Linked DNA regions of Homo sapiens: region 2 is linked to region 1. Evidence: promoter capture Hi-C in 16 types of primary human blood cells and fetal thymus (Javierre and others, 2016). All regions are on one chromosome and are shown on one strand. Each heading gives the region's core, a stretch centred on a gene start or on the middle of the fragment in contact. The rest is flanking DNA. Distances are from core to core; before and after follow the strand shown. Region 1 holds the start of RPTOR (regulatory associated protein of MTOR complex 1). Region 2 overlaps RPTOR (regulatory associated protein of MTOR complex 1).

Evidence for each region. Contacts are between HindIII fragments. The CHiCAGO score rates a contact against its expected background, and 5 or more counts as called.
Region 2: a contact is called between a fragment that was not itself captured here and the fragment with the promoter of RPTOR in region 1, in 1 of 17 cell types (naive CD4 T cells). The highest score is 5.0, in naive CD4 T cells.

Annotation. Positions count from the first base shown.
Region 1 is chr17:80,543,524-80,546,110 of GRCh38, reverse strand. It overlaps RPTOR (regulatory associated protein of MTOR complex 1), which reads right to left and starts at 1,273. Exons shown (of 34, transcript NM_020761.3): 1 at 320-1,273. The coding sequence starts at 481. RefSeq lists enhancers at 1-752, 680-779, 1,060-1,419, 753-1,579. The HindIII fragment of the contact is 2,750 bases long and covers 1-1,586 here.
Region 2 is chr17:80,727,235-80,729,821 of GRCh38, reverse strand. The region is part of intron 4 of RPTOR (regulatory associated protein of MTOR complex 1); the gene reads right to left. Among named protein-coding and RNA genes, the nearest start is that of RPTOR, 180 kb to the right of the region's middle. The HindIII fragment of the contact is 1,252 bases long and covers 679-1,930 here.

The DNA of each region.
Region 1 (2,587 bases), core at 24-2,523:
TTTACAGAACTAAGTAGTATGCCAAAGAGCATGTAAATACTCGCAATGCTCTATTTTCAAATTTGCTTAACTTTTATTATCTGAATTAGAACTTAGTTGGAATTGAATTAACACTACCCAGTGAATAATGACTAACCAAAACAGCATTTTCCATTTTCAACCAAAAACTGCAGTCTGAAATGGCTTTTGCTTTCTAGTTGACTTACAACGTGTGGCTAGGGGGAAATGTCGGCGCTTTCCCAAGGACACTTTTCGGGCTGTAAACTTTCTTTGTTGGGGAAACTACCAAGTTCAAGGGGTGCCTTCAGAATCCACTTACCCGATCCTTCATCCTCCAGCTCTGAGCTAAGGATTTGGAGCCTTCAATTTTCTCACAGTGCCTCTTTTTCATAAAAGCCAAAGGTAGGTTCCAGTCTGTAAGATCAGCCTCATCTTCCTCCCCCAGGCCCAGAAGAGGCGATTGCAGCATTTCGGACTCCATCAGTGGGGGAGGGGGTGGGGGAGTCCTTGGCAGCAAGCGCTCGAGAACCTCCAGCCTTAAAAACTAGCGTGTACCAGAATTGGTGAAATAAGAAACAAAAACGGGAAATCGAAAACCAAATGGATAAAGAGTGCGGAGACCCTTACTCAGGCAAAAGTCTGAGATCCTTATCTCTAACTCTGAGCGGGAAGTGGGGAGGTGGGGGCCGCTAGGAAATGGGGCAGCCCAAGAAGCTCCGCAGACACACACCACCCCAGGTCCCAAGCCACTGGCTGCTCCTGAGGCTGTACGTTTCCAGAGGGGCTGCGAGGGGAGCTGCCAAAAGCGTAAGAGACTTCAGGCCTCACGATGACCCTGCTCTCGGCCTCCACCGCCTCAGCAGTTCCGAAGACAGGCAGGCCGCTCTTGGTGCCGGTTCGCCCACTGGGCCGACTGGGCTGAGGTCTCCGGCCAAGGGATCGGGTTCAAAGGGCCCTGGGTCTCCTCCAGCCACTCTCAGCCCTGCGGGTCCCGCACTCGTCTGAGCTGCTGCAACCAGAGCCACGACCGGCCCATCGTGCTCGCCTGCACCCGGTTCCTCAACCTCAGGTCCGCGCGGCCTGGCTGGTCCTGGCCTTCAGCCCCGAGGCTCTCTCCTGCCTGAGAACGAGTCCTGAGAAACGGGCGACACGGAACCACGGAGGAAAGGGACAATGTGGGCTTATTGGGTCATGGGAGCTTTGCCCTCTGGTTTGGAGCTACAGTGAAACTCATCTCATCAGCCCATCAAGGAGGACGCCATATTGCCAGGACCCAGAATGCACCGCGGCCTACGGCGTGGCCGACAGACCAAACCTCCTCAGAGCGGTCTCTCCCCGCCACCCAGCATGCAGCGAAGGAGAAAGAGTCCCCGACCCCGTTACCTCGGTTACCATAATTCCGTTTTCCCCAGTTAATCGCCATTTGTTCAGTAGAGGCGTGTTATTAAAGTCAATCCTACAAATGAAACTGTCGGTTTAATTTATTTTTTCAAAAACATTGTCATTATAAATGAAGTTACATGCTCCTGAAATTAAAGGAATCAACCGCCTTGTTTCTTCCAGATTTTGAAAAAGCGGCAAAAGCTTCACTGATAATATTAGAAAATATTAAAAAGCACTGATAATATTAGAAAATATAGTACTTTTTTTTTTGGAGTGTAGTGTCCTCCACAGTGTCAATCAGATTTTCTCTTTAATTTTTTCATAGAGAACCAAGTGAAAGGCCGGGCGCCGTGGCTCACGCCTGTAATCCCAGCACTTTGGGAGGCCGAAGCGGGCAGATCACGAGGTCAAGAGATCGAGACCAGCCTGGCCAACATGGTGAAACCCCGTCCCTACTAAAAATACACAAATTAGCTGGGCGTGGTGGTGCGCGCCTGTAATCCCAGCTACTCAGGAGGCTGAGGCAGGAGAATTGCTTGAACCCGGGAGGCGGAGGTTGCAGTGGGCCAAGATCGTGCCACTGCACTCCAGCCTGGGAGACAGAGCAAGACTCTTCAGATGAAGAAGGGTCTGAAGCAACAGAAGAAGAGTCTGGAGCAAGATTCGATGAAAAAAAATTTCATCTAATACAATTTTTTGTTTAATCTGTTTCGTTTTCTGAGCAGTTTATCCTTTTTAAATTTTTTTCCCACTTCTTGGTAGCAGTAGTTTATTCTTATTTTGATATAGCTTCACGTGCAGACATCTAAAACTACATGTCTGTGCGTGGAGGCAAGCCTCTTGTGTGACTCTCTTTTTCAATTCAGGAAATTTGGCTCATTTACAATGTATAGAGAACTGTGTAAGGTGGACTATAAAACCAAATGTAGGCAGGGCACCGTGGCTCACGCCTATAATCCTAGCCCTTTGGGAAGCCGAGGAGGGTGGATCACGAGTTCAGGAGTTCGAGACCAGCCTGGCCAACATGGTGAAACGCCGTCTCTAATAAAAATACAAAAATTAGCTGGGCGTGGTGGCGTGCGTCTGTAGTCTCAGCTGCTCGGGAGGCTGAGGCAGGAGAAGAGCTGGAACCTGGGAGGCAGAGGTTGCAGTGAGCCGAGATTACACCACTGCATTCCAGCCTGGGTGACAGAGTGAGATTCCA
Region 2 (2,587 bases), core at 55-2,554, 180 kb before region 1:
TGCTCTTCACTCCGTGTCTCCATTTGTCCTTTAACTCTGTCACATCTCTGGGTTTATATAACACAACACACACATCATTTACAAGGGAGGGGAGCTCTAAGAGTTGGCCGGGTCCTCAAATTTGCATGCCACTGTCCCTTTAATTTCAGAGAGGTCCATAAGCACTTTGTCATTGAGATGACTTTTGAAAGATCATACTTAAGGGGTATAAGTGGGTTTGGCTGTATAAATTTATTTCAGTCACAGAACAATAACCTAGTAACACTAATCTGCTGAGTGAAACATTTTTCAGAACACACCATACTGTTCAGCGCCTGAACAGACACTAGTGATTCTGGTAAATGCAGAGGAGAATGTTCTCATCTCACTTGAGAAACACTTACAATCCGAACGCAAAGCTAACATTTTTAAGGAATTCTTCTCCACAGAACACGTTCATTATTTACCTTTCCTTGGACATCAAGAGTGTAAGTAGTGAAGCTGTGGCAGAAATCAAATTCCCAGAAATTGGCAAAAATCAAAGTCACAGTAAAAGTGAGTTTATTTCTTAGCAGCTAAGCCACATATCCTGCCGCTGGTACTGCCTACAGGATTGTTTATAACTCAAGAGGAAAGGGACAGAAGGCCAGATCCAGCAAAGCCTGGGGAAGTATGGCGTGCAGGAAGCCTGCAGAAGCTTTGTCCGTGCACAGCAAAGAAGCAGACAAAAGTTACATTTCAGACATCAGCTACATCTCAGACGTAAGTTATATCTCAGACATGATGATACAGTATACCAACGACGCAGATGTGTGGGGGGTGTGTGGAGACACGTACATCATCGTGGGCAGGACCCCATTCTACCTGTGCTCTGCCAAACATGTTGTTAAAACTGTCCGCGTTTGGTGGACTGTTTATAATCACTGCTCTATAATAGAACACCTGGAAATGCTCTCTGTAAATAAACCCACTGAAGGATCTAGAGATGTCAATTCTTGCCTAATGAATCCAGAAAGTCAGTCCAAGCCTAATCAAAATACCTTCTGGGTTTTTTCCATTCACGGAATTTAACAAGATGATTATATAGTACAGAGAAAAAAAAAAGCACAAGAGCAAAAAAAAATTAATAAAGAATAATGAATAGGGACTCACACTGCCAGATATTAAAGATACTATAAATCTATGGTAATTACAGGATGGTATTAGTGAGGGAGACAAACAAATCAACAGAAAAGAGAGAGTCCAGAAATAGACCCACATACGTAACTCTAATGAGGACAGCATTTTAAATCTGCAAAGAAGGAATTAACAATTCAATAACTGATGCTGGAAACTCTAACCAGCCATTTGGTATTTTGCTATCTGAGATTACACACACACACACACACACACACACCCCAGAGTGGACTGAAAACCTAAATGTAAAAGCACAGGAAAATTTTCATTTATTTTGGCATATGAAAGGCCTTAATTAAGCAAGTCACAAAACCTAATAAGTCTTGAGACTGACTGATACAGTAAGATAAAAAAATCTATAATTCTAATAAAGACATATCAATGACTAGCAATTTTAGAAGAAAGGAGGTACACAGTACATGACAGAGAATTTTTTAGATGTGTCTATATAAACTTCTGCTGCAGATCAACAAGGGACAAAACGAAAACAAACAGGCAAAACATACAAACAGGCAATTCACAGAAGAAAAATGAATCAAAAATGATTCTAAGTTTCATGCTCTTTATTAGAAATGCAAATTACAATGAGAATCTATCTATCTACCTATCGATCCATCCATCCATTCATCCATCCATCCATCCGCCCATCCATTCATTCATCCATTCTGTTTTTATTCAGCAAAGTGGAAAGCAGGATAAAATGTGAATAATGCCCCATTGTGGGAGGATGCAGGGCACTCATCCATCAATGGTGGGAATGTAAATTAATGAAGCTTGTATGGAAGGCAATTGGGAAGTACTTAACAAAAATTTTAAAGGCACATTCCTTCTGACTACTTCTAGATATCCATCCTATAGAAATACTTGCATTTGTACATGAGATGTTTTGACTGGTAAAAAAAAAAGCTGAAAATTATCTAAATGCCAGTGTGGTAGAGACTGCTAGGCTAATATCTGATTTTCTCTCTCTTCTAAAGCAGTTGTAGCTGAGCACATGGCCCAGTTTCCTTTCCAGTGAAGTCTGTCCTGCAGCCAAATTCTGGCCAGCGCGACATGGTCAGAGGTGCAGCGTCCACGTTCTTGGAGCATGACATGATCAGAAGTGCAATGTCCATGATCTTGGAGTGTGACATGATCAGAGGTGCAGCGTCCACGTTCTCAGAGCATGATGTGGTCAGAGGTGCAGCGTCCACGTTCTCGGGGCGTGACGTGGTCAGAGGTGCAGTGTTCACGTTCTTGAAGCGTGACATGATCAGAGGTGCAGCGTCCATGTTCTCAGAGCATGACATGATCAGAAGTGCAATGTCCATGATCTTGGAGTGTGACATGATCAGAGGTGCAGCGTCCACGTTCTCGGAGCATGATGCGGTCAGAGGTGCAGCGTCCACGTTCTCGGAGCATGATGTGGTCAGAGGTGCAGCGTCCACGTTCT